Linked DNA regions of Homo sapiens: all the other regions are linked to region 1. The links are contacts of gene promoters, found by promoter capture Hi-C in blood cells and fetal thymus (Javierre and others, 2016). All regions are on one chromosome and are shown on one strand. Each heading gives the region's core, a stretch centred on a gene start or on the middle of the fragment in contact. The rest is flanking DNA. Distances are from core to core; before and after follow the strand shown.

Evidence for each region. The method cuts DNA at HindIII sites, captures the fragments that hold promoters and counts their contacts. A CHiCAGO score of 5 or more calls a contact.
Region 2: a fragment that was not itself captured here is called in contact with the fragment with the promoter of LIF in region 1 in 4 of 17 cell types (neutrophils, activated CD4 T cells, naive B cells and 1 more); the score reaches 7.3 in neutrophils.
Region 3: a contact is called between a fragment that was not itself captured here and the fragment with the promoter of LIF in region 1, in 16 of 17 cell types (M2 macrophages, neutrophils, monocytes and 13 more). The highest score is 21.4, in M2 macrophages.
Region 4: the fragment with the promoter of HORMAD2 here is called in contact with the fragment with the promoter of LIF in region 1 in 9 of 17 cell types (neutrophils, erythroblasts, monocytes and 6 more); the score reaches 10.8 in neutrophils.

What each region holds. Positions count from the first base shown.
Region 1 is chr22:30,245,128-30,248,053 of GRCh38, forward strand. LIF (LIF interleukin 6 family cytokine) reads right to left here and starts at 1,632. Exons shown (of 3, transcript NM_002309.5): 1 at 1,550-1,632. The coding sequence starts at 1,568. LIF-AS2 (LIF antisense RNA 2) reads left to right here and starts at 1,083. Exons shown (of 1, transcript NR_148946.1): 1 at 1,083-1,866. RefSeq lists an enhancer at 1-82. The HindIII fragment of the contact is 10,846 bases long and covers 1-2,926 here.
Region 2 is chr22:30,391,872-30,394,571 of GRCh38, forward strand. No RefSeq gene overlaps it. Among named protein-coding and RNA genes, the nearest start is that of SEC14L2, 3.8 kb to the right of the region's middle. The HindIII fragment of the contact is 1,502 bases long and covers 567-2,068 here.
Region 3 is chr22:30,099,889-30,102,634 of GRCh38, forward strand. All of the region lies in intron 3 of HORMAD2 (HORMA domain containing 2), which reads left to right. Among named protein-coding and RNA genes, the nearest start is that of HORMAD2, 21 kb to the left of the region's middle. The HindIII fragment of the contact is 7,543 bases long and covers 1-2,746 here.
Region 4 is chr22:30,079,050-30,081,927 of GRCh38, forward strand. HORMAD2 (HORMA domain containing 2) reads left to right here and starts at 1,415. Exons shown (of 11, transcript NM_152510.4): 1 at 1,415-1,442. HORMAD2-AS1 (HORMAD2 and MTMR3 antisense RNA 1) reads right to left here and starts at 1,208. Exons shown (of 5, transcript NR_110541.2): 1 at 1,079-1,208. RefSeq lists enhancers at 871-1,568, 1,406-1,485 and a silencer at 1,016-1,065. The HindIII fragment of the contact is 6,725 bases long and covers 1-2,878 here.

The sequences.
Region 1 (2,926 bases), core at 382-2,881:
CCTTAGTTCTCCCTGCTCTCTTCTGGGATGACGTAAAGATGAGGGCAAGACACAAGCCATTTCCACCCAAAGGGTGCAGGGTCCAGGAGAGACTCCCAGCCATCCCACCCTTTCCCTCAGGAAGGCAAAGGTCCTAAGGCCCCCTGGCCCTCTGGCTGGAAGGCACCAGGCCCCAGGCCCAGCAGGCACCAGGAGAAAGGAGACCCCTCTCTTCCCACCTCCCGTGGTGGCCCAGGTTCCTCAGCAGCGCTTCCCACTCACTGGCCCATTGCAGCCCAAATCTCCGAAGCCAGGCACCCATGGGGGCCACGGGGCATGGGGGAGTGGGGAGGAGTCCTCGGTTGACCCTCATCTCCCTCCCAAACCTGCCACTTGATTCTGGCTCCCTGGGCCAATTGCCCCCAATTCTGCCCCCGCCCCCATCATCCTCTATCTCTTCCTTCCCTAGTGTCCCCTATCTCACTCAAGCTCACCCCATTTCTGCCTGGCTGTCCCCACTCTCCATCCCCAAATCATCATTCAAAACTCTCTGTTCCCCCAGCTCCGGACAGCCCCTGACTCCATGCCTTCTCCCGACTCATCCGCTGTCCCTTGTCCCAGGGGTTCCCCTCCCTCCTAACACACACACACCGGCTCAGGGAGGGAGAGGAAATGGTGCACCAGGAGAGAGAAAAGGCAAAAGGTCATAGGCAGTCGGGTGGGCGGGGAGGAAGGAAAGTGAAAGGTGACAGGAGAGCTGGGAGCTGTCCCGACATGTCCTGGTTTGCCCCTCCCCCAGGGGGGCCTGTTCTCCCGACTCCCCCCAGGCCCCCTTAGACGCTTTTCCAGGGCTCTGCAGAAGGGCACCTGAAGATGGTGGGGGCCGGGGTCAGCGGGCGAGTGAGGCTGGAGACCTCCCCCGGATCCCCCATGCTGGAACAGCGGGGACAGGGGCCTCCTCAAGTTCACTTCTCCTGGGTCCCCTGTTCGTCCCAGCATCCCAAGGCAGTGCTGAGGCCCCGGGGTGGCTGCGGGAGGGGGGCCACACCCCTATATCTCACCTAGCGCAGACCACACGCTTCCAGACACCAGCAGATGGAGGCGGCACCTGCTCCCGTCCCAGGCCGGAGTTTGCAAGCTGCTCGCCGCCCGCGCCCCTCCCTGGGAGCAGCCCGGGACCGCGGTTGGAAAGGAGAAAGCGGAAAGAAAGAAAGAAAAGAAAAAGAGAGAGGGAGAGTGAATCTGGGAGAAAGCGCAGAGGGAAGAGCAGCCAGCGAGTGTCCGGAGCGAGGAGGAGGAGGAGGAGAAGGAGAGGGGGAAGAAGAGGAGGAGGAGGAAGGCTCGGCGCCCCCTCCCTCGCCGCCAACCTGCCGCGGGGCGTGCGGTGCTTGGGACCATGTGCCCGCGCTCGCTCCGGGCCGCCACCCAGCGCCTCCGGTGGCTGCGCGGGCGCCCCAAGTGTTCGTGTGTCTGCGGCGGGTGGGCGTCCGGCTCGCGCTGCCAAGCGCCCCAAGTTGCCGCCGCGCCCCGCAGCGGGGACGCGAAGCCGGCGCGGGGCGGGTGTATTTACCTGCCGCCAAGACCTTCATTATGGGCTGCACTTCAGAGGGCCTTGGAGGAAACCTCAGATGCCGGCAGTTTTCAGAGGTTCATGCTCAAATGGGGAATTTGCCTGATTTATATACTGGAGCCTGTGTTGTAAGACAGAAACAGCTATATTTAGCCGGGATCCCCAGTCCAGGAAGTTGTTTGAGGTGCATCATAGGAAATTATGAATGGAAGAAAGTGAGAGTGAAGGGGGGGGACGAGTGAGGGGGGAGGGTGGGGAGAACAGACTTTTTCCCTCTTCTAAGAATTTGATTGATAAAATTATAATGAAGCCTTCGACAAAACGCCCTGTGGTTTTCCTGCCTGGCTTGTCCCGGGAGTTGTCTGAAGATGGGCATCGCCAGGAGGGGGCCCCTGGCCGAGTCAGCAGGGGTCCCAGCAGTGGGCGCCCCAGACGGCCCTGACTCACCTGGGTTTGGGGAGGTAGCGAGTCTGGACTAGCAGATGGAGACTGGCCCCTGTGCCCCCTGGTTGGGGGGCTTTAGGGGGGCAGTGGGAGGAGGAGGGCTAGGGCTTGGCTGAGAAGGAGGCTCCAGGAGGAGGGGCCGGGGCCGGCGTGGACTTTAGACGGTCATAAAGTGGAACTGAACATGGGCGCTGGAAGCCACCCCAGAGGTAGCCTCCTCCAATCTGCACATTGCCACTGGGCCCCAAGGGGCTCCGAGGGGAACACGTTGCCCAGGGCCCCAGAGGGTCAGGCCTCCAGACACCACCAGTGCACTCGCCCTGCTGACCACTGTACCTGTGAGGCTGGGGAAGGGGCTAGGAAGACATGGGGGTAGGGGTGACTGACTCAGTTCTGTCGGGACACTCTGGGAAGGTGCTTCTGGGAAGGCGGTCCAGCATTTCCATTCTGAAGCAGGACTGAGAGAGGCTTGGCGAAATCGTACCCCAGTTTCCTCCTCCGGGTGCTGATTGATGGTTGGGGAAACTGAGAAGTGGCTGGTCCCTTCCAGACCTGCCTTGGAAGCCCCTTTGAGCCCAGCCTCAGAGAATGATGGAGGTCCCCAAAAAGTGCTTCTAGAGGCTCTAAGGCAGTGTCACATGTTCTGGCGTCTTCTGAGGCCAGGCGATTTGTGAATGAGGAAGGGCAGAAAGGAGCAGTGGGGAGCCGGGCAAAATGAGCACAGGGACACCTCCAAGAAATGCAACAGAAAAGTGAAAATAAATACACCCTATGAGATGCGGGAATGCCGGCCAGACAGCATGGCCACGCGTCTGGGGCCATGCCGTCCCTAAAGCTGCCAGGGGACCCCCAGTACCAGGAGATGATTTAGTCCCCTGTGGCCCCTTCCCAGCCCTTCCGCCTGACCCTGACCTGAGATCAAGGTGTGTGAGT
Region 2 (2,700 bases), core at 68-2,567, 150 kb after region 1:
AGGAATGAGATAAAATAGCCTCAGAGAGGGGCTGGGGGCCAGAGGCCACTTCAACCTCATTACCAGGGAAGGGAGACCTCTCTAAGAGGTGGTGTGTGGGCTGGCACCTGAATGGCAAGAATATTCAAGAGAAGAAACAGAGAATGCAAGTGAAAACAGCTGATACCAGCTGGGTACAGTGGGTCATGCCTGCAATCCCAGCAGTTTGGGAGGCCACAGTGGGAGGATCAGTTGAGGCCAAGAGTTCAAGACCAGCCTGGGCAACATAGTGAGACCCCCATCTCTACAAAAAGAAACCCACAAAAAATTTAAAAAAACAGCCAATAGCTTTACAGTGTTCCAGGTACTCTTCAACGTTTTTTTCATGAATTCGCTCATTTAATCTCATTCCAATCACATGAGGTAGTAAGATTATCACTGCCATTTTACAGATGAGAAATTGAGGCAGAGGTCAAGTAACTTTGCTAGGTTATAGAACCCGGACCCAAACCTAGGTAGTCTGGTTCCAGAGTTGGTGGGCCCACTCCTATGCCATTCTGCTCTGAGAGGTCACTGGTGTGGGAACAAGCTTGCCTACCGAATCTGGACTCTATTTTAGCTCTATTTGGGGTGGAAATGGCAACCCATCCTTCCCAAGCGAAGTCCCCAGGCTCCTGCCAGCTAGTGCCAGAGCCATAGCAGGGGCCCCAGCACCCCTCCGGCCCTCCCCTCCCCTCTGGGGGACTCCTGAGGTCCCAGCTCCCTGCCCCCAGCCTCTGTGCTCACAGCTATCTGGGCCACCTCATTCTAAAGGGATTTGGCTCTTGGAGACAACTGGAGACTGGTGAGAAAGGGCTTAGGGATTAGACAGTGATACCCAGGAAGGTAAGGGACTTAATCAGGGGTTCGAGTGTGGGAAGTGGGGTGGGGAGAGGATTTTGTTTCTTTGCAAAGCCAGGCTGGACTGCAGAAGTGAGGAGGAAGTGGGGCTCGGGGGAGGAGCCAGACAGGCTTAGTTTCTCACTCTCTGTTGTGCCTTCAGAAGCAACATGATAGAATAATAATCCCTCACCTGTGTGCGCCCACCACTTCCCCAGCCATTATTTCACTTGGAATTCTCACAGTGGCGGGATTAGTTCTCTCCCCAGATCACAGACACCCAGAGGAGGCAGGTGACTTGAGGCAGCTGCAAGCCCCACAGGGCTGGGCTGGGAGGAGGGGAGGAGGTTGGGGCCAGGGCTTTTCTGCATGGCTGCCCGCAGGCACAAGGGTTTTCCAGAGAGTTCGCGCTGCCCTGGCCCCGTGGAAGTAGAGTGTTCCACAAATATTTGTGAAGAGTTTAAAAGACTGTTCTTTCCAACTCTCAAATCACAATGCCAATCTCTGTGCCACCCCCTTCCCCCTGGCACCACAGATTCTGAGGCCAGGGCACGCAGGAGGCCTCTGATCTCAAGGCCAGTGCCCTCATTTTAGTGAGGAAACAACCAAGGTCTAGAGGGCACGGCCAGCAGCCCTGAGGAGACCCCCAAATATGCGTCTTGTGGAATAGTCACGGCAGCACATTAAGCAAGAACATGGTCTCCAGCCCACACACCAGACTCCCGGTCCAGTGCTCCTTCCTGTGCCCAGAGCTGCCCCCCAGAAGAATCTGAAGCACAGGGCTCTGTCAACGCTAGGACTGCCATCCCAACGCTTCTAGATCTCTGCGTGCCACCAGCCTTCTTTAAGTTGTTCACACTCTATGTTCCCCTAAGCAAAGTCCCCAGCAAGATATACCCAGAGCAACACACCCATCACAGAAGGTTCTCCCCTCCAGCCTGCCTGACCCAGGAGGCCTGGTTCTTCCTGTTGGGCCATGCTATTCCCTGAGAGTTGCCACTACAATGCAAAATAGTCCACATCAAGGCCAGGAAAGGGGACTTCTGGTTGGCAGAGGTCGTGTTGCATTGGGTAGCTCAGGGAGAAGCTCCTGGAAACAGTATTTGATCAGAGTCTTGAGGGCTGGGGAAGACCTGGCAGGAGGATACAGGACACAGCAGCAGCTCTCACAGAGGCAGGAGGGCAGAGGTGTGTCTAAGGGACAGTGGGAAGCTTCTCAGATTGAAATGAAGTGTGTGGAGAGGGCAAGTGGCCGTTGGTGCCACAAGGAATGCTGGGCTGGGGTGGGGGTAGGCCTCAAATGCAGATCAGTGGGATTGAGTCAACTCAGGAAGGAACCGGGGAGCCATTGAAGATTCTTGAGCAGGGGTGCAACATACCTAGCAGGGAGGAAGAACTGTAGGGCAGGGATTAGGGGATGGAGAAAAAGTGGGGATGGGAAGGAGGGACTCTCTCTTGTTAGCCAGCTCCAGGACTTCACCAGATTATTTATTTATGTGTTTTTGTTTGTTTGCTTGTTTTTTTTTTTTTTTTTTTTTAGACCGAGTTTCTCTCCTGTTGCCCAGGCTGGACTGCAGTGACGTGATCTCGGCTCACTGCAACCTCTGCCTCCTGGGTTCAAGCGATTCTCCTGCCTCACCCTCCCAAGTAGCTGGGTTTACAGGCGCCCGCCACCATGCCCGGCTAATTTTTGTATTTTTAGTTTCACCATGTTGGCCAGGCTGGTCTCAAACTCCTGAACTCAGGTAATCCACCCGCCTCAGCCTCCCAAAGTGCTGGGATTACAGGCGTGAGCCACTGTGCCTGGCTAGGTTTTTTTTTTTTTTTTTTTTTTTTTTGAGA
Region 3 (2,746 bases), core at 144-2,643, 150 kb before region 1:
GAAAAACAAACAAAAACAAAAACAAAAACAAAAAACCCAAGTACCTAGGACTCAACAAGTTTTCAAAAATCTTATTTGTTTAAAAAGCTGGATTGTGTATCATGAAAATGGCCATACTGCCCAAAGTAAATTATAGATTCAATGTTATTCCCATCAAGCTACCATTGACTTTCTTCACAGAATTAGAAGAAACTACTTTAAATTTCATATGGAACCAAAAAGGAGCCCATATAGCCAAGAAAATCCTAAGCAAAAAGAACAAAGCTGGAGGCATCATGCTACCTGACTTCAAATTATGCTACAAGGCTACAGTAACCAAAACAGCATGGTACTGCTACCAAAATAGATATATAGACCAATGGAACAGAACAGAGGCCTCAGAAATAACACCACACATCTACAACCATCTGATCTTTGACAAACCTGACAAAAACAAGCATTGAGTAAAGGATTCCCTATTTAATAAATGGTGCTGGGAAAACTGGCTAGCCATACGCAGAAAACCGAAACTGGACCCCTTCCTTACACCTTATACAAAAATTAATTCAAGATGGATTAAAGACTTAAATGTAATACCTAAAACCATAAAAACCCTAGAAGAAAACCTAGGCAGTACCATTCAGGCCATAGGCATGGGCAAAGACTTCATGACTAAAGCACCAAAAGCAATTGCAACAAAAGCCAAAATAGACAAATGGGAACTAATTAAACCAAAGAGCTTCTGCACAGCAAAAGAAATTGTCATCAGAGTGAACAGGAAACATACAGAATGGGAGAAAATGTTTCCAATCTATCCATCTGACAAAGGTTTAATATCCAGAATCTACAAGGAACTTAAAACAAATTTACAAGAATAAAACAACCCCATCAAAAAGTGGGCAAAGGATATGAACAGACACTTCTCAAAAGAAGACATTTATGCAGCCAACAAACATATGAAAAAAAGCTCATCATCACTGGTCGTTAGAGAGATGCAAATCAAAACCACAATGAGATACCATCTCATGCCAGTTAGAACGGAAATCACTAAAAAGTCAGGAAACAACAGATGCTGGAGAGAATGTAGAGAAATAGGAATGCTTTTACACTGTTGGTGGGAGTGTAAATTAGTTCAACCATTGTGGAAGACAGTGTGGCAATTCCTCAAGGATATAGAACCAGAAATACCATTTGACCAAGTAATCCCATTACTGGGTATATATCCAAAGTATTATAAATCATTCTATTATAAAGACACATGCACACATATGTTTATTGCAGCACTATTTACAATAGCAAAGACTTGGAACCAACCCAAATGCCCATCAATGATAGACTGGATAAAGAAAATGTGGCACATATACATCATAGAAAACTATGTACCCATGAAAAATAATTAGTTCATGTCCTTTGTAGGAACATGGATGATGCTGGAAACCATCATTCTCAGCAAACTAACACAGGAACAGAAAACCTGTGTTATGTATGTTCTCACTCATAAGTGGGAGTTGAACAATGAGAACACATGGAAACAGGAAGGGGAACATCACACACTGGAGCCTGTAGGGGGGTGGGGGGCAAGGGAAGGAATAGCATTAGGACAAATACCTAATGCATGTGGGGCTTAAAACCTAGATGATGGGTTGATGGTTGCAACAAACCACCATGGCACATGAACAAACCTGCACTTTCTGCACATGTATTCCAGAACTTAAAGTATTAAAAAAAAAAAAAGCTGGATTGTGAATCTTGTTGACTTGTCACTAAAATAGGAACTGTCATTTGGAAAATAAACATAGAGAGCTACAAGTTGCCTTGTAAGATGTTATTTTTCAAAATCTAATTTTAAATTTCTTACATCTGTATTTAATGATATACCTTGGCCTCATTTCAGTCTAATTCTCTTGGTTGGGCATGGTGGCTCAGGCTTGTAATCCAAAGTGTAACCATAACACTTTGAAAGGCAAGGTGGGCAGACTGCTTGAGCCTAGGAATCCAAGACCAGCCTGAACAACACGGTGAAACCCTGTCTCTATAAAAAATACAAAAAATTAGCTGGCCATGGTGGTGAGTGCCTGTAATTCCAGCTACTCTGGAGGCTGAGGTGGGAGGATCATCTGAGCCTGGGGGGTTAAGGCTACAGTGAGCTGTGATTGCACCACTGAATTCCAGCTTGAGTGATACAGTGAGACTCTGTCTCAAAAAAAAAAATTATCTTAAGTAATGTAAGAGCATCAATAAAATGCATGTGTGCTATAAGCACATAAACATGATATTTGCAATCATGACAACCTCATTTGTATTATGACATCTTTTGGTCTATGAGATACAAACTTGTAATAGTGAATGTGTTTATATCTAACATATATTTGTAATTTTCCCTCTTGTCTAGAACATAGAATTGAGAAAGACATATTTTTGATAATAAGCACATATTGTGTGCCAGTCACTACCCTAGGCAACGGCAATGATACCATTCCCTATAGCTTTATTTTTTGTGACAGTTATTGTGGAAGTTTTATGTCTCCCTTTCAATGTTTGTTCTTAAAGTAATATACATCATAAAAATGCTTAATACTCCTGTGTCACTCTCTTGTAATTTCTGAATGTTATATCAACATGGGATAATTTTCATATCCCTCAATAGAGATACAGGTAACATCAATTTTAGTATAGGAAAACAATACGAAAAGGTGAAGTTGCTTATGCAAAATCACACATAAATCAGTGATTGATCTTGGACTACTTTAAACCAAAACTCTATTTA
Region 4 (2,878 bases), core at 165-2,664, 170 kb before region 1:
AATATTTCAGCCCAAATTTCAGTTTTAGTCATTATGTTCTAAACTCATGTTCTCGCCAACTTGAATAGTTTTTTTTTTCTTTCCTGCAGAAACAAAATAAGAACAGGTTTCAAGTGGCTCACTCTTTCATCTACTCTCTTGGGAAATCCCCTTGGGGAGGTTCATGGGACTCCAGGAGCCTTTGGAAAGCACCACAGGATACGAAATATCTACCTAAACAGGTGAGAAACGATCCAAGGAGCCACACCCCCAACTGCTCCCACAGTTACCAGGGCAGAAAAAACTGAGATTAGGGGTAGGGCACAAAGGAGAATATATTTATGTTTTATTTGCATAATTACAAATTAATGTTAAAAAGAATGCAAAGTCAGGTCCAGGGTAGGGATGAAGAGGTTGCAGATGCCCTCAAGTATTGGAAAGCTCTGGCCTTCTGGCCTTATGTCTTTTTTCTTTCTTTTCTTTTTTTTTATTTTTGAGACAGGGTCTCCCTCTGTTGCCCAGGCTGGAGTGCAATGGTACGATCTTGGCTCACTGCAACCTCAAACTCCCCGGCTCAAGCGATCCTCCTACCTCAGCCTCCCGAGCAGCTGGGACTACAGGCGCACGTCAGGTGGCCCAGCTAATTTTTGTACTTTTTAAAATTTTTTTGAGACGGAGTCTCGCTCTGTCGCCCAGGCTGGAGTGCAATGGCGGAATCTCGGCTCACTGCAACCTCAGCCTCCTGGGCTCAAGCGATTCTCGTGCCTCAGCTTCCCAAGTAGCTGGGACTACAGGCGCGCGCCACCACGCCCAGCTAATTTTTGTATTTTTTGTAGAGACGGGTTTTCAACATGTTGGCCAGGCTGGTCTCGAATTCCTGACCTCAAGTGACGCGCCCGCCTCAGCCTCCCAGAGTGCTGGGATCCCAGGTGGAGCCACCGCGCCGCACTTCTCGGGCCTTCTTCTAACTCGGGTCCCTGGGCCCCCCAGGCTCTCGCTTCCCTCCCCTACGCCGCCCCGCGCCCGCCTCAGACCTCTCTGGGACCCGCCGGCCTGGCGTCCTGGCCCGCCCGAGCCCCACGGTCCCTCGGGTCCTAACCTCGGCGGGGCAGGCACCTCCTCAGGAAGCCCCGGAGCAGGCTGTCGTTGTATAGGTGGCCCAGGCTGGCGGCCCCTGACCGAAGGTCGCGTCGGGTCAGTGTGCAGCCCGTGGCTGAGAGGCGGCTGCTGAGGGGCCGGGCGGGCTAGGGGCCGGCTAGCCGCCGTTCGCCCCTGCTTTGCATATTCATGAAGTCTAGCGAGGCCGGTCGCCCAGGCTAGCCGTGGACGGGTCATGAATTATTCATGAGGAAACCTCTGGTCCCGCCCAGAAAGGCCTCGTTGACTATTCATGAGCCGAGGAGCGGGTTTGGGCCGGAAAAGGCCGTTGACCCCCGGTGGGAGGGAAGCGTCGACGAGCTGAGGTGAGGGCTGTTGAGACGCGAGGTCTCGGCCCAGAGAGGGCACTCGGGCGTTGTTAGTTCTGTCTTTATGTCAAAAAACAATTTTTTTTTCTTTTCTTATTACTTAAGGCTTTAAGTTGGATTTGAAAGTATCATATTTCGTGAGGGCCTAAAGTACTGTGAAGAGAATCGGGAGGGCAGGGGGCTGAGGAGGAAGGCAAAAGGGAGGCGATTTCCCCCAGAACTGGACAGAGAGCACCCAGGTAGTTTTGAAATTCAGATTTTTCTGGACATGAAATCAAACTTGCTGAGCAAGCAGCAGCCATAATGAGCCATGATGAGGCTGGCAGGGCAGACGATGTCTGTGCCCGACATTGGAGGGGGCCGTGTGTGGTGGAGCTTTGGGGAAGTTTATCTTACCTGGGTCAGATTCTCCCCAGCCATTGAGGTTTTCTGCCAGGATCGATGCCTGGTACAGGCCAAGAGGTGAGAGAGGTGGGGACAAGACACCCCGCCCCCCTTGACCTCAGCTCCCCTTTCACTTTAGTGAGGATTTGCCAATTAATCCCTATGGACTTTAGTTCCCTAAACAGAGGGAGAGAGTCTTGAACCTCAGGATTAGCCAATCGCCAAAATGTGTCCGAGTACGCAGGGCACTGGACAGGCTGTGCAGTACATCGTGTACTCAGCTGGTAGAAATGAGGGGTGGTTCTGGCCCCTAAAGGGGTTTTTAATCTCAGCAGGATCATAATCTAATTTCTCCTCCATTGGACCATCAATCTGTTGAGGTAGGAACAGTATTTTACATCTCGTAATCCTGCATGTTGTTGCCTGGCACATTGTAGTTGCCTCGTAGATGTTGAATGAATGAATAATTGAAATAGCATGAAAAAGATATTAAAAAGTCAAAAGAGCATGAACAAATACTCAATTAATATAGTGGAAGCCATTTTCTCTGAATGAGCACAGGTAGGGGAATTACCAGGGCCAAATGGAATTTGTTAAAATGGTGAATAATTTATTGAAGCAAGCTCTGTTGGAAGGTCTAAGTAATTGGGCGAACTTTGGCAAACCAAGTTCCCTTGCTTAGCCTCACTTTCCTTTTCTTTTTTCTTTTTTTTTTGTGAGATGGAGTCGAGCTCTGTGCCAGGCTGGAGTGCAGTGACGCAATCTCAGCTCACTGCAACCTCCACCTCTCGGGTTCAAGCGATTCCCCTGCCTCAGCCTCCCATGTAGCTGGGACTACAGGTGTGCACCACCACGCCCAGCTAAATTTTTTTATTTTTTTTTATTTTTAGTAGAGACAGGGTTTCACCATGTTGGCCAGGATAGTCTCGATCTCTTGACCTCGTGATCCTCCCACCTCGGCCTCCCAGAGTGCTGGGATTACAGGTGTGAGCCACTGCACCTGGCCCCTTTTCTTTATAGTTTTATGTTTAGGTTTAAATCCATGATCC